Regions from separate parts of the Homo sapiens genome. Here regions 1, 3, 4 and 5 are each linked to region 2. Evidence: promoter capture Hi-C in human tissues and cell types (Jung and others, 2019). All regions are on one chromosome and are shown on one strand. The core of a region is centred on a gene start or on the middle of the fragment in contact, and the rest is flanking DNA. Distances in the headings are between cores, read along the strand shown.

The links. The method cuts DNA at HindIII sites, captures the fragments that hold promoters and counts their contacts. A contact is called where the count stands out against the background at its distance.
Region 1: a contact is called between a fragment that was not itself captured here and the fragment with the promoter of CAMK1D in region 2, in 2 of the 25 tissues and cell types used here (dorsolateral prefrontal cortex and mesenchymal stem cells).
Region 3: a contact is called between a fragment that was not itself captured here and the fragment with the promoter of CAMK1D in region 2, in 2 of the 25 tissues and cell types used here (bladder and mesenchymal stem cells).
Region 4: a contact is called between a fragment that was not itself captured here and the fragment with the promoter of CAMK1D in region 2, in 1 of the 25 tissues and cell types used here (aorta).
Region 5: a contact is called between a fragment that was not itself captured here and the fragment with the promoter of CAMK1D in region 2, in 1 of the 25 tissues and cell types used here (hippocampus).

Annotation. Positions count from the first base shown.
Region 1 is chr10:12,965,795-12,970,495 of GRCh38, reverse strand. All of the region lies in intron 2 of CCDC3 (coiled-coil domain containing 3), which reads left to right. Among named protein-coding and RNA genes, the nearest start is that of CCDC3, 34 kb to the left of the region's middle. The HindIII fragment of the contact is 3,130 bases long and covers 1,519-4,648 here.
Region 2 is chr10:12,347,581-12,351,746 of GRCh38, reverse strand. CAMK1D (calcium/calmodulin dependent protein kinase ID) reads right to left here and starts at 2,200. Exons shown (of 11, transcript NM_153498.4): 1 at 1,837-2,200. The coding sequence starts at 1,928. RefSeq lists enhancers at 1,052-1,211, 1,386-1,885 and silencers at 1,922-2,011, 2,182-2,741, 2,782-3,041. The HindIII fragment of the contact is 17,086 bases long and covers 1-4,166 here.
Region 3 is chr10:13,073,533-13,077,742 of GRCh38, reverse strand. It overlaps a transcript of CCDC3 not described here. Among named protein-coding and RNA genes, the nearest start is that of OPTN, 25 kb to the left of the region's middle. The HindIII fragment of the contact is 7,650 bases long and covers 1-4,210 here.
Region 4 is chr10:12,862,236-12,866,378 of GRCh38, reverse strand. No RefSeq gene overlaps it. Among named protein-coding and RNA genes, the nearest start is that of CCDC3, 140 kb to the left of the region's middle. The HindIII fragment of the contact is 3,351 bases long and covers 352-3,702 here.
Region 5 is chr10:12,882,516-12,886,824 of GRCh38, reverse strand. No RefSeq gene overlaps it. Among named protein-coding and RNA genes, the nearest start is that of CCDC3, 120 kb to the left of the region's middle. The HindIII fragment of the contact is 4,978 bases long and covers 1-4,309 here.

The DNA.
Region 1 (4,701 bases), core at 1,834-4,333, 620 kb before region 2:
AGCTAATTAACATGTATACTACCTCACAAACTTATTTTTTTGGGGTGAGAACCTTAAGATCTACTCTTTTAGCAATTTTCCAATACATACTACAGATGTACCTCAACTTACGATGGGGTTGTACAGCAATAAACCCACCGTAAGTTGAAAATGCATTTAATACCCCAGTGAACCCACGGTAAAGTTGAACTATTGTATATTGAACCACCATAATAGTGTTATTGACTGTAGTTGCCGCGATATGCAGTAGATTTTGTAAACTCATTCCTCCGGTGTAACTGAAATTTTGCGTCTGTGACCAACATCTCCCCTCACCCCTCATCCTTCAGCCTTTGCCAGGAAAAGCTGTGACTCACCCCTTCCTGTAACTTTTAAATTACCATCTTGGAGACCACCATTGATGAAAAAACCCTAAAAACCCATACATTAGAAAAAACACTACCAAAATACATCAAGAAGCTAATTTAACTTGAGATAAGGCATTGCAGGCTATCCTGTTTTAAATTAAAATGGCTTCATTAAATAGGCATACACTGAGTCCCTTTGAAGTATTTTATTTTTCTGTCTTATCCTCTGTTTCTATGAGTTTGACTTTTTTATACTCCACATATAACTGAGGTCACATGGTATTTTGCTTTTCTGTGACTGGTTTAGTTCACTTAACATAATTTCCTCCAGGTTCATCCATGTTGTCACAAATGACAGGATTTCCTCTTTTTTTTTTAAGAATGAATATCTTAAAAATATTTTTTAAAAATATTAGAATATTAAATATTAAAATTATTAAAATATTTTTTAAAATATTAAAAAATTTCTAAAATTTTTTTAAGAATGAATAATATCCTACCATATATATTATATAAAAAAACTTTTTTTATCCATTCATCTGTCAATAAACACTTAGGTTGGCTTCTTTTTCATACTGTTATCATATCCTTTGGATATGTACCCAGTAGTCGGTTTACTACTGGGTACGTAAGCTTCTGAATCTTATGTACTAAATTACCTTGGGTAATTCTATTTTTAATTTGTGGGTGTGTGTTGTTATATATTTACCATAATTGAACATAATTTCCAATCTATTTTTAATTTTTTGAGGAAACTCCATACTGTTTTCTATAGTGGTGTACTAATTTACATTCCCACCAACTGTTACAAAGGTTCTCTTTTCTCCACATCCTCATCATCATTTATTGCTTGTCTTTTTTATTATAGTCATTCTAACAGGTGTGAGATGACAGTTCATTATGGTTTTAATCTCCTTTTCCCTGATGATTCGTGATGTTGAGCATTTTCTTATTTACCTTTGGGCCATTTGTATGTCGTCTTTAGAGAAATGTCTATTTGGGTCCTTTGCCCATTTTTTAATTGACTTGTTTACATGCTATTGAGTAGTTTCAGTTCCCTGTATGTTTTGAATATTAACTTCTTATCAGGTGTGTAGTTTGTCTTTTATAGGAGATTTTAATCTGTTTACACTCAAGATAATTATTGATAGGTAAGGATGTACTATTGCCATTTTGTTAATTGTTTTTTGCTTGTTCCTTTGTTCCTTTCTTCCTCTCTTGCTGTCTTCTTTATGATTAGATGATTTTCTCTCATAGTTTGCTTTGATTCCTTACTTTCTATCTTTGGTGTATCTACTATAGATTTTTGCTTTGTGATTACCTTGAGGCTTACATAAAAGATACTGTAATGGGCTATTTATTTTAAGCTGTAAATAACTTAACCTTGATTGCATGATAATACTCCATACTTTTAATCCACCTCCCCATTTTGTGTTTTTGATGTCACAGTTTACATCTTGTATATCCCTTAAAAAATTATAGCTATTATTTTAAATAGTTTCATCTTTTAACCTTCATACTAAAGATAAATGTTACTTACATACCACCATTATAATATTAGACTGTTCTGAATTTGACTACTTACTTTTACAAATGAGTTTTATACTTTGATGTATTTTCCTGTTACCCATTAGCATCTTCTTTCAGCTTGAAGAACTCTCTTTAACCTTTCTTGTAAGACAGGTCTGTTGGTGATGAACTTACTAAGCTTTTGTTTGTTGGGAAAAGTCTTTCTCTCCATTTCTGAAGTACAGCCTTGCTAGGTACAGTGTTCTTGGTTGACAAGTTTTTTCCTGCAATACTTTGAATATATCATCCCACTTTTTCACGGCTTAGGTTTCTACTGAGAAATCTGCCACTAGCCTTATTGGAACTTCTTTATATATTGTTTTCCTGTTTTCTCTTGTTCCTTTTAGGATACTCTGTGTGTGTGTGTGTGTGTGTGTATGTGTGTGTGTTTGTATTTTCTTTTTTTTTTCTGAGGTGAAGTCTCGCTCTTTCACCCAGGCTGGAGTACAGTGGTGTGATCTTGGCTGCCTGCAAACTCTGCCTTCCAGCTTCAAATGATTCTCCTGCCTCAGCCTCCAGAGTAGCTGGGATTACAGGCACACGCCACCACACCTGGCTAATTTTTGTATTTTTAGTAGGGACTGGGTTTCACCATGTTGGTCAGGCTGGTCTCGAACTCCTGACCTTGTGATCTGCCCGCCTCGGCCTCCCAAAGCGCTGGGATTATAGGCATGAGCCACCATGCCCGACCTGTCTTTATACTTGACAGTGTGATGATAATATGTCTTGGGATAGTCTTGTTTGGATTGAATCTGATTAGAGAACTTTGACTTTCTTTTACCTGGATATTTGTGTCTTTCCCTAGAATTGGCATGTTTTCTGCTATTGTTTAAGCTTGCCTACCCCTTTGCCCCTATGTTTTTTTCCCTTAATTCCTGTAACTCAAGTATTTTTGTTCTTTTGATGTTGTCCCATAAATCCTGAAGCTTTCTTCATCCCTTTTCACTTTTTTCCTTTCTTTGCTGGCTGCATATTTTCAAATAACCTGTCTTTGAGTTCACAGACTTTTTTTCTCCTTGATCAATTTTGCTGTTGATATTTTCTATTGAACTTTTTATTAATTGTATTTTTCAGCTCCAGAATTTGATTTTTTAAAAATAATTGTAATATCTATTAAATTTCTAATGTTGATTATTTATTATTTTCCTGACTCATTGGGATATTTCTCTGATTTTTTGAGGTTCATTGAACATAAAATAATTATTTTGAATTCTTAGGCAGTTCACATATCTTAATTTCTTTGTGGTTAGTTACTGGGAGATTATAACACCACCAAAAGAATATGATATATTATTTGTTTCCTCATTACCTTATGCTGATGTCTGTTCATTTGGTGGAGAAGTCACCTCTTGGAGCTGTTCTGGGTTCATTTCACTATAGGAAGACCTATGCTGTTTATGGAATGGCACAAAAGTCAATACATTGCATATGGAACCAGCCTTTAAAAAGTCAAAACTGATTTATGGGAGAAGGTGGAGAGGGGCATGGTTTCACAGCTGCCTCACCCTGGGTAAATCGCTCAGCTTGTTCAACTCCTTAGAAAGCTGGAGGAAGCCCAGAAGATGAAGGGACTCCAGCAAAAGAGATCTGGAAGATGATACAGGCTGTTACCCTGGACAGTTCGTTTAAAATAGCTGGGTTTCCATTTCCACACCCTGCCTTCCTCCCAGGTTTGTTGAGGAGACCCAAAGAGATAAGATACGGGAAACTGTTTTGAACATTGTCAAGTGCTATACAAAGTAAGGTATGGTTAAACCTCTTCATTTTAGAACACGTTGGAATTTGAAGGCGCCCAATAAATACTGGTTTCCTCACCCACTTTCTGACTTAACTGAGTCAAAGATTTCCTTTCTTAACTGATGAAGATGATACAGTGTGGCTTGTATCTGTAGGCAAGAGGGATGATTCCCAACCTCAGGGTTAGATGGACTTAGGAGGCACAGGTCGCTTTGGAAAACCGTAGCCCATGTCTGGGGCGTGTCTGATGCTCTAAAATTTTCTGCTTCGATAAGAAGCAGACTGGACTGGGAACTCCCTGTGGCCAGCTGGCTCCCAAGAGGAAAAGGGGAGAGCTAGGCATGCTTTGTTCCTGTTTGCAAGTACAGGAATCAGAGTCCCTGCCTGTTCCCGGAGGGGTGTGAGGGTCTGGGGAGAAGCCAGGAGCATGCTTGTAATGCAAGACTCATTACACAAAAACTAGCAGGCTGGGGAAGGGAGATTCCTCCTATAGATAGTAGCGTAAATAGGCTGTGCTGAATTTAAAGCCCACAGCCCCTCAGTTTCTAGTTTCTCAACCTTGCTCATATAGTAATATGAGTAAGGCTGGTAACTGAGTACCATATAGTAATATGAGTAAGGCTGGTAACTGAGTACCATATAGTAATATGAGTAAGGCTGGTAACTGAGTAAGGTTGAGAAACGAGAAACTGAGTTTGTGGGCTTTGACTTCAGCACAGCCTATTTACGCTACTGCCAGGGGCTTATTGCCCACAGACGGTGATAGAGTGAGGCCCAGCCTTGGGAACATCTCGTGAAAGGCTTGCAAAGGGGACCTAAGAAAATGCCTGGGATGGTGGATTCACTCTGTGCTGGAGAAACTTAATGATTTGTGGTCATCAAAAATGAACTCCTTATTCACTTTCACAAGACTCAATGATTTATCATCCAATGTGAACTGTGTTCTGAATCCTATTCTCTACATACTTTGGTGCAGACACCTTCTCCATGTGCCATTTACAACGTGTGTATGTCACGAAGCCTTCTCTTTAGGGCTGAGCCAACTTGG
Region 2 (4,166 bases), core at 951-3,450:
GCAAATCCCCATTTTTCCCCAAGGTGGAAACCACCCACAGTCATCTCCAAACACCATGCTCCAGCAGGAGCCACAGCTTGGAGCCTCAGCAGCCCCGCCACTGCAGAGGTGCAGCTGCACGAGTCAGTCAGGGGACAGGGCATCAGTCACCCGGAGGCTACAGGCAGGAAGCCAGTGTGGGGGGCTCGGGTGGGAACAAGCCACGGACAGGAAAGCATTCACACAGGGTGGGTCCCCATGCTCTCCCATCTCCTCATTGGCGGCCACAGTGCGGGTCCTGGATGACAAGCAAAGGCCATGCTTTCTTGTCTCTCAGTAACTTGAGCATCTCAGAATCACAACCCCAAACCCGAATAAACCTCAGTGGCAATTTTCAAAAGTTTTGACCCAAACTAACCCCTTACCTGGCTGCACTAAGAGGCAACCCCAAACCCCTATTTATTAAAAAGCTACATCTTTTTCTGTTTTCATTCCAACAAAGATAGCAAATAGGTGCCCTCCCTGAAAGGCAACAACCACAGCAGGGAGACCCCACTCTAGTCCTCAGCGTGCGCCTTCCCGGGAATCAGAAGCAGGACTGGGAAAGCCACCCTCACAACTTCTCTCCGGGGGACCCCCTGCAGATCTGCGTGGGGGTGAGGGGAAATGACTGAACAGCAGCAGACGCCGAGCCTGGAGGTGAAGACAAGCTGGGTAATGTGGTGCTGGAAAAAAGAAACCAAGCACAAAAACAAGCACACGGAAAAAAAGGAGGAAGGAAAGAAAGGGCACCCAACAACGCACTGATTTATCCCATGAAATAGCTCCCCTTTCTCTTCCCAGCCTAATCAACACCTCCATGAACCCCTGCAAAATGGGCATTTCTGACTGCACACCTGTGCGTGAATCCACACTGACAGATACTGATGCAGAGCAAATACTGATTGTGTGAGGGAAGGAAATAACTTGAACTTCAGACTCATTCGGCAGGTCCTGATTCTCTTTCACTATCAGCCTCCCCACCTATTCTGAGCCGCTCCGAAACAAAACAAACAAGACCCAACTCCTGGGCAGAAAGGGAACAGCAGCTGAGCTGAGCAGCACATGCTTGGAGCGTTCCTGCCATCGACTTCGGATTATTTCTGCTTTCTTGAGACACAGCCATCAGCATGGGACTCGATGCAGCCCGGAGAGAGCACCGCCCGCGCAGCGACGCGCACAGACCCTCCCTTGGAGACGCGCTCCCCGGCGCGTGCGGCCGAGCCCGCGTGAAATGCACAGACCCTCCGGTGAGGCTCTGCCCACGTGTGACCCTGAGCACTGCGAAGCCCTTCCCTTCCATCCTCGCGTGGCCACCCAAAGTCTTGCCTACACCTCGTACGTGCAGATGCCAATTCCATAGAAATACATGATGTAAGGACAGAAATGGGAACGACTGGAGGCTGATCTTCTCGTGACCACGTCTCGCCAACGCGGTGCGCCCATGCACACGGCGAGTAAACGCACACAGCCGGTAAACAGCCATCCCCACCATGCTCAGCCCACAGTCACGCGTGGGGAGAAGGCAGCGGAGAGGGCGGCGGTGGCAGGAGAAGTGGGAAGTCGCGCGCCCGCGTGGGCTGCTCCCTGACAGCCCGGCGCTGCCCCCTCCCCCTCCCGGGAACGGCGCCCACCCGGGGGTCGCAGGCCCACGCGTCGGGCGCGCTCGGGGGGGCTCCGCAGCGCCGAGAACGGGACAATGAGGACGCGGTGACAGGCTGGGTTTCTGCCGCGGTAGTGGCGGCGGCGGCAGCTGGAGCTGCCCGTGCAGCCCCTGCCGCGGCCACCTCCACCCTCGCCTCCCCGGTCCCCACTTACGTTCCGAGGGTCTCTTTGAACTCGAAGATCTTCTTGATGTCTTCAGCTTGCTTTTTCCAGGAGGAGCTGCTCTCGCCGTTCTCCCGGGCCATGGCCGACGAGCGCGGCGCGGAGGAGCGGCCGGGGGCGCGCTGGGGAGGGGGCGCCGGGGGCGCGGCGCGGGCGCAGAGGCGGCGGGGATGCCGGGCGGCTCGGGCTGCGGCGCAGCTTCCTCCTCTGCAGTTTCCTCTTTCGCTCTCGCCGCCGCCGCCGCGGCCGCGGTCCCTCCCTGGCTCTTATTTCTGCTGTTCTCGGGCACAGACTTCCTGCCGCCGCCGCGCGCCGGCTCCTTTGCCGCCGCCTGCCAGCCTCACTTTCTGCTACTTTCTTGCCTCCCTCCCGCTCCCTCCCTGCCGCCCGCCGCGCTCCCCCCCACCTCGCGCCTCCTCCCCCTCCTCCCCCTCCTCCCCCTCCCGCGGGCTCCCCGCCCTCTCCGTGCGCCCCGGCCGCTCCCCGCCTCCAGCGCGCCGCCTTCGGGGATGTCCCGCTCCCCTCCCAAGAGCGCCGGGCCACGGCCGTCGTGCCCCCTGGAGCCCCGGCGAGGGCGGGTACGGGCCCCCGGCAGGTGCGGGGCGCACGCGGGAGAGCCCCAGCCCCTCCGGGAGCTGGAAACGGAGCCCAGTCTGGGGGCGCCGGGGCTTTCCCGTCTCCGGCGGGAGGGGGCGCCTCTGCGTGGCTCGGAAGCGCCGGGCGGGCGGGGGTGCGCGGCGGCCGGATGCGGGGCGCCGAGGGCGGGGCGCCTTCCCGCGCTGTGGCCTGTGGCCCGGGGGACCCGAGGGGCAAGGCGTGGGGTGGGGGGGGTGGGGGCCGGTTGTTATGGCGACGGGCGGCGGCGGCGGCTGGGATGGAGGCGGAGGCGGGCGGGAGCTCATTCGCATTGCACCAAATCGGTTTCACGTCAGTTTCGGGACAGACCCGCGAGGAGCAAGCCGGGGAGCCTCTGGGCGGGTACGCGCAGGACGCGCCAGCAGCTGCCTCGTGGTCCCTTTGCGAGCAAAACTCCCGGGGGTGTTTGGCAGCCGCGCGGGCGCCCTGGTGCTGGGCTGGAGCGGCCGGCGGGCCTGGCCGGCCTGGTTGCCCTGGCTCACGCTTGGCCCCTTCTGGCATCTCCCTGTCTCCTCCCAGAGACTCAGTGGAAAGAAGTGATCGTCTGCCCCGCAGTCCCCTCGAAGGAGGAGCCCACCCGCGGCTGGCTTAGTAGGGTGTCCGGGTTGCGGGGCAGGCACCTGCTTTCCTATGGACTGCCAAAACTAACCCAGAGAATTCCCTCCGGACTCCCATCTCCCAGCTGTACTTTGGCCTGCCCGCCCCACTCCTGGTGTCCACCTGTCAGAGGGCAGCCCACGTGCTCCAGTTCCCTGGTCCCCAACCTGCAGGGGCGACCTCTTGATCGGAAAATTTTAGATTTCTTGGTATCAACACTTCGCCTCCCTCAGGGCCTCTCCTCGTAGTTGGGTAAACAGCTCTGTCTCTTGACTGGGGACACCTGTCCCATTTTCCCAGGACTGTTCCAATTTCACTGTAAAAGGAAAAAAAAAATCTGCTCCCTGAATAGGAAACTTCATCCAGCACCTTGTGCCTAGTTCTGACTCTGGCTGAAGTGGAGGCAGCCCAGCTGCTCTCCCTCAGCCCCTACTCTGACCCTAAAGAGGTCAGACGACACCCTGGCATCCCCATTCCTGGGACCTCCATGCTAGTTTCCATCTTTCAAAGACGGTTAGCTTAAGGTTTTCCAAACTGAGAAGAGCAAAGAGGGGATTTACTTGCCGGTTAGATGTAGAATAAATCCACAAACCCAATTTCCAACACGGATGGGTGAGAAGAATTACTAAGGAACCTCTCTTATACTTGAGGCACATTACCAAAGTTCAAGGCAAACAGCATCCCCTTCAATAAGAAACATTTGAAAAACTATCATGTATTTTACTTGTGCCAAAGGTTAGATAATACAAACAGTGGGAACCAGGGCATAAGTCAACTAAGATCCCAACTGTCGCTTTCTCATGCCTACAGTCAGCATCTTCTTGTCCTTTCTTTCTCCTTCCCTTCCTCCCACTGTGTTTCCTTCTCCTCTTTTCCTATTTGGTTCTCTGCTATGTTGCCCTTGCTGCCTGGCCTCAGGAACAGCCGCCAGAGCTCATGAAAACAATTCTCATTCTCAGCTATTATCCCCACAGCTGAAGAAGTGCTGATTCTCTACTACCCGGCCATAAAAAAGAATGAAATCATGTCTTTTGCAGCAACGCAGTTGGAACTGAAGGCCATTATCTTAGGTGAAATAACTCAGAAAC
Region 3 (4,210 bases), core at 1,711-4,210, 730 kb before region 2:
TTGTCAGGTTTGTCAAAGATCAGATGATTGTAGATGTGTGGTATCATTTCTGAGGGCTCTGTTGTGTTCCATTGGTCTATATCTCTGTTTTGGTACCAGTACTGTGCTGTTTTGGTTACTGTAGCCTTGTAGTATAGTTTGAAGTCAGGTAGCGTGATGCCTCCAGCTTTGTTCTTTTGGCTTAGGATTGTCTTGGCAATGCAGCTCTTTTTTGGTTCCATATGAACTTTAAAGTAGTTTTTTCCAATTCTGTGAAGAAAGTCATTGGTAGCTTAATGGGGATGGCATTGAATCTATAAATTACCTTGGGCAGTATGGCCATTTTCACGATATTGATTCTTCCTATCCATGAGCATGGAATGTTCTTCCATTTGTTTGTGTCCTCTTTTATTTCGTTCAGCAGTGGTTTGTAGTTCTCCTTGAAGAGGTCCTTCACGTCCCTTGTAAGTTGGATTCCTAGGTATTTTATTCTATTTGAAGCAATTGTGAATGGGAGTTGACTCATGATTTGGCTCTCTGTTTGTCTGTTATTGGTGTTTAGGAATGCTTGTGATTTTTGCACTTGATTTTGTATCCTGAGATTTTGCTGAAGTTGCTTATCAGCTTAAGGAGATTTTGGGCTGAGACGATGGGGTTTTCTAAATATACAATGATGTCATGTGCAAATAGGGACAATTTGACTTCCTCTTTTCCTAATTGAATACCCTTTATTTCTTTCTCCTGCCTGATTGCCCTGGCCAGAACTTCCAACACTATGTGTAATAGGAGTGGTGAGAGAGGGCATCCCTCTCTTGTGCCAGTTTTCAAAGGGAATGGGAAGCAATTTTTGTCCCTTATGCAGCTTGTCCCTGCTACTCTGTCCTGTCTCCATTGGCTGGAGCCAGACCTCACAATATAAACTGAACCCGATTGGCTGACAATTTAAAACTTCTCTAAATAGGTGAAAGCAATGGAGAACAAGGGAAAGGAGGAAGTTGCTTACTAAAGGACTTAGAAAAGTAATAACATTCCCAAATAAGGAAGGGGCATAGGCTGCGAGCTGGGACATGTCTGTGAGCATGTCCAGCACAGATATCTTGGTTAAAGTACAAGGACATAGAATGTACTATGTGCCTGTGAGCATGTTTAATAACTACATAGGATAGGGCTTAACAAAGAGTTATTAGCACAAAGCAAGGAGGCTTGAAGGAAGTTAGTCTTTAAAAGGAACTATTACTTCTAACACTTATGATTTATTCTTTAACAAGGGAAACTTTGAGGAAGAAACTTTTTGCTTTCTACACAGGACACTCCTACGTCTGGGTCTGTTTAGTAAAGGTTATCAATCTGTTTCCTTAGCCACAAACATCTAGAGGCTAGGAATATCTAACTTTCGGGGAGGGCAGCCCAGCAAGTCCCAGCCTCATTTTTCCTAGTCCTCACCCAAGATGGAGTTGCTCTGGTTTGAATGCCTCTGACAACAATCCTAAATGTATTACTGTTGGCTGAATTGCTTTATCCTCTCTATTTTTCGTTTTAATTCCAGCCATCAACATTTGCCCATTTGCTAAGTTAGAAATTTGGAGGCAGCTTTGACTCTTCTGCCCATACTGAGTTAGCCATCGAGACCTGCCTCCTTTGCTTCCCTATTTCCCTGATACCTGCTTCCCTATTATTTTAGGTTTTTTTGTTTGCTTGTTTTAAGATAGGGTCTTGCTCTGTCACCCAGGCTGGAGTGCACTGGCACAATCTTGGCTCATTGCAACCTCTGCCTCCCAGGTTCAAGCAATTCTCCTGCCTCAGCCTTTGGATATCTGGGATTACAGGCACATGCCATGATGCCTGGCTATTTTTATTTTATTTTATTTTATTTTTTTAGTAGAGACAGAGTTTAGCCATGTTGGCCAGGCTGGTCTCAAACTCCTGACCTCAAGTGATCCGCTCACCTTGGCCACTGAAAGTGCTGGGATTACAGGTGTGGAGCCACCATGCCCGTGCGCCTACCCACATCGATACATAAAATTAACCATTGCACTGAGCAAATTGGTTAATCATCAATTTTTGAAAAGTATATTGAGCATTGAAGGCTCATCCAATTCTAGGCCAGGTTTCATGGAGAATCTATAATGCAAAGTCTTTATTCCTTCTTGTCTCCCCTCCCCACAAGGGTTTTTTCCTGGTTTATTTATTTATTTATTAGTGTTTCTTCCCTTATTTTTAGCAGATTCAATACTTTAGCGGTGGGAAGAGGTTCATCCTTAGGAGCTTCTAAACCATTACCCACCTACCCAGGCTGGGACGTCTAGAAAAAAAAAACAAAAAAACAAACGTGTCTGATGAAAATAGGAATATCTGTGTGTCATCTTCCCCGACTCAGATATCAATCACTTATTATTTCGTTTAAAAGCCAAAGAAACAAAAATACCCACTGATTTTGGAGCTCCTACATGTGCCAGTCACTATGCAGGATGCTGGGGATACAGTGATACGCAAAACAAAAAGTTGTTTATTGCTTGTTAAACAAAGCAAAGGCACTTTATGCACCAGCAGAGGAAATAGGAAAACCATAGTGGAAAAGACTCCCTAGCTTCTGAGATATTGATAAGAAGTTGGAGAGATGATTTGTTATAAAGGGATGTAAAGCCTCGTTTCAGTGGGAAACCATTCGTTCATCAGGGAGCCAGGTTTGCAGTGGGCACCTATGCGTCAGTTCTGATGTTCCCCGCCTACGATTGTTTGTCCATGTCCAGCAGATGGCGCCAAGTGACTGGCCGCGGCTGGGATGTACCGGGTCCTCTTTGGAAAACATGAAATCTATTTCTATAGGGCCAGCATCTTAAAGAAGGCACTCATATTGTCTGTTTGAGACCCTTTCTTTTGCTCCATTTTAATGTGATATGTGGATCAAAATAAGAAATAGACAATAAAATGGTTTCTCCTCCTGGAATGTGGTAATATTGTGGAATAACAGGAACACAGGTCTAACGTAGATAGCTGAGTAAAACAGCACCCAGACTTGCAGCCGGCACGGGGAACTCATGTGAGTGTGTGTATGTGTGTGCACGCGTATTTGTGCTTATGAGAAAGATTAAACAGTAAAGGATGGAAGTGATAACAAATGCTTTAACAAGGGTAAGGAGAAAGTATTGTAGAAAAATCTATAAAAGCTGAGGGAGTGGGAGAGGGGGAGGGGGAGGGAGAGTTAGTTCAAGTGAGCATGAGAGCTGGGACCTTGGATTAAAAGCATTAAAAGAACTCCAGAAGAAAAGATTTGATTCCGCCGGTTGTGGTGGCTCACGCCTGTAATCCCAGCACTTTGGGAGGTCGAGGTGGGCGGATCACCTGAAGTCGGGAGTTCGAGACCAGCCTGACCAATATGGAAAAACCCCGTCTCTACTACAAAAAAAAAAAAAAAAAAAAAAAAAAAAAAAAAAAAAATTAGCCGGGATATGGTGGTGCATGCCTGTAATCCCAGCTACTCGGGAGGCTGAGGCAGGAGAATTGCTTGAACCTGGGAGGCAGAGGTTGCAGTGAGCTGAGATCACGCCATTGCACTCCAGCCTGGGCAACAGGGGTGAAACTCTGTCTCAAAAAAAAAAAAAAAAAAAAATATATATATATATATATATATATATTTGATTCCTCTGTTTCTTGCAATCCTAGTAACAGGTGACTTGAATTTCAAGTGATTATCATATAAATGGAGGATTAGAAAAGAGACACCAACTCTGGAACCAGTTCAATGGAATTCTTCAAGAGACTGTAACTTAGTGCTTACAAAGACTTGGAATGATCTACACTGCATGGTGTACCTGTTAGAGGAGGTGACATCAAAGCTTTAGGTACTGAGAGAGGATACTTCCTACTGTGGAAGGGAAGAAAAGAAAAAAGCAAAGGTGAGTTGGAATGGTAGACCTGTTGGGTTTATTCTCTCATTGCTAAGCTTTTAAAATCTCTCATTTAAAAAAAATGTCTTGGGCAGGCCACCGTGGCTCATGCCTGTAATCCCAGCACCTAGGGAAGCTGGCATGGGAGGACTGCTTGAGCTCACGAGTTGGAGACCAGCCTAGGCAACATTGAGAAACCCTGTCTCTACAAAAAATTAGCCGAACGTGGTGGCAGGTGCTTGTAGTTGTAGCTGTAGCCTCCTAGCTACTCAGGAGGCTGAGGTGGGAGGATTGCTTGAGCCTAGGAGGGGGAGGTTGCAGTGAGCCAGCCTGGGTGACAGAGT
Region 4 (4,143 bases), core at 778-3,277, 510 kb before region 2:
TGCCCAGGCTGGAGTGCAATGGCGCGAACTCGGTTCACTGCAACCTCCACCTCCCGGGTTCAAGCGATTCTCCTGCCTCAGCCTCCCAAGTAGCTGAGATTACAGGCACCCACCACCATGCCAGGCTAATTTTCATATTTTTAGTAGAGATGGGGTTTCACCATGTTGGCCAGGCTGCTCTTGAACTCCTGACCTCAGGCGATCCACCCACCTCAGTCTCCCAAAGTGCTGGGATTATCTGCATGAGCCCCCATGCCTGGTCTCTGTTTTCTTTTTATAGAAGCTTTAAATAGATACTGTCTTCCTGTTTTGTTCATTTTATGTGTTTCTACAGACAAGAATACCTTTCAGGAGTCTCAGACGAAGAGCAACCTCTCCTATAAGTACTATGTGGTGTCATTTCATTAATAAATGAAAGCTTTAGGGGAGAGGTGTGTCTTTTGATCATATGACAATCTCTTGCTTCTTTCCTTTTACCATTACCCTGCCATGAGCCATCTGCAGAAAGTGCAATAAGGATTGCTGTCTTCCAGGACATTGTGCTGGGTTTTCAGAAAGTTTCCAGAATCCAGTAGAATGAAGTAGACTGGCTAGAGAAAGTAGGCCTAGGGCATTTAAAAGTATCTGAGCCGGCCGGGCACTGTGACTCATGTCTGTAATCCCAGCACTTTGGGAGGCTGAGTTGGGCAGATCATGACGTCAGGAGTTTGAGACCAGCCTGACCAACATGGTGAAACCCTGTCTCTACTAAAAATAGAAAAATGAGCCAGGCGTGGTGGCACGTGCCTGTAATCCCAGCTACTCAGGAGGCTGAGGCAGGAGACTCACTTGAACCCAGCAGGCGGAGGTTGCAGTGAGCTGAGATTGCGCCATTGCACTCCAGCCTTGGTGACAAAGCAATACTCTGTCTCAATAAATGAATGAATGAATCTGAGCCAGGACAAAGAGTGGAGCACAGGACTCCATGCATAATCCAAGCCGAATATCCCCTCTTCTCCGTGACCCTTTGAGTCTCAGAGAAATGGAGGAATCTCTACACTTCATCTTAAAATTGTAACTCTAGATCAGAGAAACAAAGTGGTTCCAGAGAAGGTGAAATGGGGCCAAGCAAAAAATCATACACACAAGATCAAAATAAACCTAGAGTCTGTACAATTGTACCCACATTAACCATAGACCATATTTTTTGTTCAGGAAAGGGATAAAAAGAAATAGAGGGAAATGTATAACAGCAGACTTATATTAGAATATCTGGAATATAAAAAGAACTCTGAAAAACCAATAAGAAAAATACAGTAAAAAATTCAGCAAAACTTGAACAAGTACTTTACACAAGAAAAAATTCAAATGAGCCAAACAACATAAGGAAAGGTGCTCAACCTCATCAGAAATTAGGAAAATGCGGCCGGGCACGGTGGCTCACGCCTGTAATCCCAGCACTTTGGGAGGTCGAGGCGGGCAGATCACCTGAGGTCAGGAGTTTGAGACCAGCCTGGCCAACATGGTGAAACCCCCGTCTCTACTAAAAATACAAAACTTAGCTGGGTGTGGTAACGCACGCCTGTAATCCCAGCTACTCGGGAGGCTGAGGCAGGAGAATCGCTTGAACCTGAGAGGTGGAGGTTGCAGTGAGCCAAGATCATGCCACTGTACTCTGGCCTGGGAGACAGAGGGAGACTCCATCTCAAAAAAAAAAAAAAAATTAGGAAAATGCATCTTAAAGCCATAATCATATCTAAGTATACAACCATTTGTTTGGCACAAGTTTGAAACTCCAGCAATATCATGGGTTTAATAGGAATAACAGGAGTAATAAGAATTCGCAAACAAAACCAGGATTCTATGTAAATTGGTACCAACACTTTGGAAAATTCTTTGACATTATCAACTAAAATTGAACACGGCATACCATATAACCTAACAATTTCACTTCTGTGCTATATTCTCTCCTCTAAAAATGTGAGCACACGTTTACCAGTATACATGGAAGAGAATATTCAGAGTCAAAAACTGGAAACAAACCAAATGCCCATTTACTGTAGGATGGATAAATACATTATTGTATATTCAATGGCATGCTGGCAGATGTTTAACAACAGGGAGAAAAAGCCCCGATTTGTAGCATTTGCTAATTTCCATGGTGCAAATATACTCATCATGGCTAATTTCAAGCTCCCAACATGACATTAACTAGCTTACAAAATTTGTGAACATTTAACAATCAATGCTCATGAGTCTGTATAAGCTGCCTCCAGCACATCCCTGAGGATATTTTTATGTTGTAATACTGTGTAGCAATAAAAATGAATGAGCTAGGCCAGGCGCAGCAGCTCATACCTGTAATCCCAGCACTTTGAGAGATCAAGGCAGGCAGATCACTTGAGCCCAAGAGTTGAAGACCAACCTGGGCAACATGGCAAAATCCCATCTCTACAAAAGATACAAAAACATTAGCTGTATGTGGTGGCATGTGCCTGTAGTCCCAGTTATTTGGGAGGCTGAGGCAGGAGGACTGCTTGAGCTGAGGAGGCCGAGGCCACAGTGAACCATGATTGTGTCACTGAACTCCAACCTGGGCAACAGAGTTAGACCCTGTCTCAAAACAAAAAAAGAAAAAAAAAATGAACTATAGCTAGATGCAACAGCATGGATAAATCTTACAAATATAATGTTGAGCAAAATAAAACACAAAAGAGGCTGGGTGCAGTGGCTCATGCCTATAATCTCAGCACTTTGGAAGGCCAAGGTGGGTACATTGCTTGAGCTCAGGAGTTTGAAACTAGTCTGGGCAACATGGTGAAACTCCATCTCCACTAAAAATACAAAAATTAGCCAGATATGGTGGTGCATGCCTGTGGTCCCAGCTACTGGGGAGGCTGAGGTGGGAGGATGGCTTGAGCCCAGGAGGAAGAGGTTGCAGTGAGCCAAGGTCATGCCACTGTACTCTAACCTGGGTGACACAGTGAGATCTTGTCTCAAAAAAAAAAAAAATCGCCAAAAAGAATACTTATACTTAGAGTATGATTTCTTTTTTTTTTTTTTTTTTGAGATGGAGTTTTGCTCTTGTTGCCCAGGCTGGAGTGCAATGGCACAATCTCGGCTCACTGCAACCTCTGCCTGCCAGATTCAAGCGATTCTCCTGACTCAGCCTCCTGAGTAGCTGAGATTACAGGCATCCACCACCACATCCAGCTAATTTTTCTATTTTTAGTAGCAACGGGGTTTCACCATATTGACCAGGCTGGTCTAGAACTCCTGCCCTCAGGTGATCCACCCGCCTCGGCCTCCCAAAGTGCTGGGATTACAGGTGTGAGCCAACACGCCTGGCCAATTTCATTTATATAAAGTTCAAGACAGGTGAAATTAAATCAGAACATTTAGGGATGCACACTTATGTGATAAAAAAGAAAAAAAGGTGTAAAAACAATAGCAGAAAAGTGACAAAAGTGGCTAACTAACAGGGAAGAAGATTATAAGGGGCATGCGGTGGACTGCTGGGGTGCAGGTGATGCTCTGTTTCTTGACTTTGGTGGAGTAACATGGGTGTTCTCTTTTACATATTTGTTAGACCTCACACATAGACTGCATGCATCTTTTCGTGTGTGGCTAAAATCCATGGTGTCCTGAATCCTGCTCTTCCTGGCTCATACCAACTTGTGAGAATCAACCATGCACGTCTCCTCCCAACTCTGCATTTAGTTACACTACTTTGTCGCTTGAAATCAGCCACAGTGGGAGGATTTACACCACAGAAATTGGCAAACACAACAAATCAGGACTTTCTGTTTTTTCTTTTTTCTTTCTGGAGAGTGGGTCTAACAACACATCACTGGTTAAATTTAACAACATATTTTTTAAAAATATGACTCACAAAATTGGCTTATTGAAGCAGATATGTTTTCACAGCTTCATGCTGTCAACAATTTTAAGGGAAAACTGTATCTTAAAAACACTAAACATGACAAGATCCCTGCAATGAAAAAGTCTTGACAGTTGAGAAGGAGAATTGGTCGTGAGAAATCTGAAGGGTCTGACATTCTTCGTTGTTCGATGTGTAATAAAAAATCATTACCTTGTTGGTAAAATTAAGGATGCTATCTAGTCACTTTTCTCATAGCAAATGTTCTTGGTGAATACTTTGCA
Region 5 (4,309 bases), core at 675-3,174, 540 kb before region 2:
ACAGAGACTCAGTCTTAAAAAAAACAAGAAGTTGGATACAGGCTGCATTCCCAGATCTCTCCAGTGTGTTGGGTTGGAACATAAAAATAGCCATCTCCCCTCCAGGGGACAGATCCCAATTAGAAATCTTAAATTCTTTCTCAATTTCATTTTCCATGGAAGACCAGATTTAAAACCAGGCAACTGGCAAAGAGCCACACAGTTTTCCAGCTTGCTGGCCATGACATCTCATGAGAACAACTCAAAACACTTAGAAAAATCTTTTGTTTCAGGAGCTTAGCAGGAGGCTGGAGTGGATCCATCCATCTCTGGCCCATGATCCTGCTAACAAGCTTGCATATGCCATGGTGCTCAGTGATGAATGCAAACGGTGCCCAGTGGCTGGCAGGGCTTGGAAATTTGCCATGTTGTTTGCCTCCACACTCCCTGATAATTGCTCCCTATGCCATCTTTAAAAACCCATTTCTGGCCTTGGGCTAAGGGCTTGATCTGGAATAAGGCTGCCTCAGCCCATGCTTGGAGCTTCAATTAATCCACTCTGAACCATGATATCTCAGAGATAGCTCATTAAGTTCTTCAACAGATATTTATTGAGCACCTAGGGTGTGCCAGGCACTGTGCTAGCTCTGGCTGACAAGGATCGCCACAACAGGCACACCTCCTTCCAACATAGAGTCAAACTCTCTCTCCAATGGTGGAGAGAGACAATGAACTTGAACTAGTACTAGTCATTATCATTACAAACGACTGCTTTCAGTGAAACCAACATTGTGCTGGCTGAAGAAATGCTGCCATGGGAGTGGAAGCTAAGGGAGAAGACCCATTTTAGATAGGATGGTCGAGAAAGTGCTTCTTAGAAAGTAGTCTTTTTGTTTTGTTTGTTTGTTTGCTTGCTTTTTGAGATGGAGTCTCACTCTGTCGCCAGGCCGGAGCGGGACGGTGCAATCTCAGCTCGCTGCAACCTCCGCCTCCCAGGTTCAAGTGATCCTCCTGCCTCAGCCTCCCAAGTAGCTGGGACTACAGGTGCACCCCACCACACCTGGCTAATTTTTGGGTTTTTTAAATTAATTAATTTATTTTTTTGAGATGGAGTCTTGCTCTGTTGCCCAGGCTGGAGTGCAATAGCACCATCTCAGCTCACTGTAACCTCTGCCTTCTGATTTCAAGTGATTCTCCTGCCTCAGCCTCCTGAGTAGCTGGGATTACAGGCACCTGCCACCATGCCCAGTTAATTTTTGTATTTTTAGTAGCGACGGGGTTTCACCATGTTGTCCAGGCTGGTCTCAAACTCCTGACCTCGTGATCTGCCCACCTCGGCCTCCCAAAGTGCTGGGATTACAGGTGTGAGCCACCGTGCCAGGCCAATTTTTTATATTTTTAGTAGAGACGGGGTTTCACCATGTTGGTCAGGATGGTCTCAATCTCTTGATCTCAAGTGATCCGCCTGCCTTGGCCTCCCAAAATGCTGGGATTACAGGCATGAGCCAGCATGCCCAGCCAGAAGGTAGTCTTTAAAATGAGAAGGACTGGCCAGGCGTGGTGGCTCATACCTGTAATCCCAGCACTTTGAGAGGCCATGGTGGGCAGATTGCTTGAGCCCAGGAGGTCAGGACCAGCCTGGGCAACATAGCAAGACCCTGATTATTCAAAAAATACAAAAATTAGCCAGGCATGGTGGCATGCACCACGTGACTCGGTCCCAGCTACTTGGGAGGCTGAGGCAGGGGAATCGCTTGAGTCCAGAAGGTCAAGACTGCAGTGAGTCATGATTGCCCCATTGTGCTTGAGCCTGGGTGACAGAGCTGGACCTTGTCTCCTTACAGGGAGCCTGCAAATATATATGATCCCTCAGGAAACGGACTACTCACTGGAGTGCAGTGACTGGCTATCGTGTCTCATGTCTACTGAGAACCATGAGGACCATCTCTGTGCTCGCCTCCCTTTCCTGCCCTCACACTTGAGCTCCCACTCCCTTGCCCCCACCCCTGTAGGCATCTAGGGAGAATGAAATATACTTTAGAAGGTGACAGGAGGAAGTGGTCATTCCTGCAGTGAATGCAAGGAGAGGTAACAACAAAACGCTGTACGTTGCTCTGGGCATTTCCTTACATCTTTAGCCTTGACCTTGCCTCTGAGCTCCAGATTCATATCCAGTTGCAGACCTGCCATCTCCACATGGTTGTCTAACAGGCATGTCTAATTTAGCAAGTCAAAACCAGAGCTCCAGGCTTCCTGCTTCACACTTCCTTCCCTCGGCAGAGGGCACCAACATCTACCCAGCTGCAGAAGTTAAAATCACTCAGAGCCATTCTTGAGTCTTTACTTTCTCATTCCCCTCCCTCAATACAGCAGCCTGCCCTGTTGACCCAATCGCCAGCGTGTATCCAGAGTCCACGCGCTTTGCTCCTTCTCTAAGACCACCAGCCTGGTCCAAGCCCCCGGTGCCTGTGCTAGTGTCATGACATCCTACAAATTTGCTGGCTTCCACCGTTGTCCCCACCATGAATAATTTTCCACAACATAGCCTTTGATCCAGGCTCGCCACAAACCCACTTTGAGCTATTCTTCCTGTTCCTTAACCCTCAGCCTGGCTCACTCCTCTCCAGTCATACCGGACTTTCTATTCCTTGACTGCCCAAGCTCATTCCAGCCTTTGCACTTCTTATTCCTTCTGCCTGGAGACCCATTCCTTCAGATCGTTGCACGATCTCCTCTTCCTTCTTTAAAACTTGGTTCAGACACCCCTGAAGGTTCAGGAAGCCTTTCCCTGTGCATTCTCTCCAATATATTCCCTAGGTAATGACATTACTTTGTTTAATTTCATTCATAGCATGTATTTCTACCTGCACTTGTTGTTTTACTTGTCTATGGCCTTTCCTCTCCTTTTTTAGAAAATTAGTTCCATGGAATACTATGCAGCCATAAAAAGAACTATATCATGTCCTTTGCAGGAACATGGGTGCAGCTGGAGGCCATTATCTTTAGCAAACTAACACAGAAACAGAAAACCCAATACTGCATATTCTCACTTATAAGTAGAAGCTAAATAATGAAAACACATGGATACACAGAGGGGAACAATAGGGACAGGGGCCTACCAAAGGGTGGAAGTAGGAGGAGGGAGAGAAATAGAAAAAATAACTATTGGGTACAAGGCTTAGTACCTGGGGGATGAAATAATATGTTCAACAAACCCTTGTGGCAAGAGTTTACCAATATAACAAACCTACACATGTACCCCTGAACCTAAAATAAAAGTTGTTTTTTTTAAAAGAAAAAAAAAAGCTAATAAATCCCTTCTTTAGAAAAAAGAAAATTAGTTCCATGGGCACAGAGTCCCTGTCTGTTTTATGTATATACATACAAACGTGTGTGTGTGTGTGTGTGTGTGTGTGTGTGTGTGTGTGTTAATAGAGACAGGGTCTCACTTTGTTGCCCAGGCTGGTCTCGAACTCCTAGCCTCAAGCAATTCCTCCACCTTGGCCTCCTGTCCCCCTTCTGTTTGGTTTCCTGCTCTACTTCCCAGAATGGTGCATCTGCCCTGCCTACCAACAACAGTGCCTGACTCACAGAATGTGCTCATTATATGCTTGTTGGATGAATGCATACATGAATAAAAGACAGTATGAAATACTTTCATAACAGTCTTAAAATATATATTGAGAAAACATTACTACCATTTAAGAGATGAAGAACTGAAGGCTGAGAGACCCAGAGAGATTAAGTAACTTGATCAAAAGCACATAAATAATACGTGGTGGAGCTGGAATTCAGTTCAGACACAAATGTTCTAACTCTAGTTCCTATCTTTCTTTTTGGCTGCGACCACTTTTTTTTAATTTTCAATCATCTTTGGGTCATAAATTACATACAATAAAATATAACCATTTTAACTGCCTAGCTCAGTAAGTTTTGACAAATATATACACCCATGTGACACCACCAAGATATAAAATGAGATACAGAATATTTCCACCACCCCAAAACTTTCCTTGTTCCCCTTTGCATTCAATCTCTGTCATCCTTGGCACTGGGCAACTCCTGATCTCCTTCTGCTGGTGCTCATATTTTTTGTGTATTACTTGAACAACTTTTCACCCCTAAGGCATATGGCCTCTCTAAGCTTTTGGCTTCTCGTTTGTAATATACAGGTGATAATATCTTCGTCGTAGTTATACATTAGAATAGTTGATGTCTCTAAAGTGCTTAGAATGGTATTCACCATTGTATGAGTCTACTTGGGCTGCTATTACAAAATACCACAGACCGAGTGGCTTCAACAACAGAAATTCATTTTCTCACAGTCCTG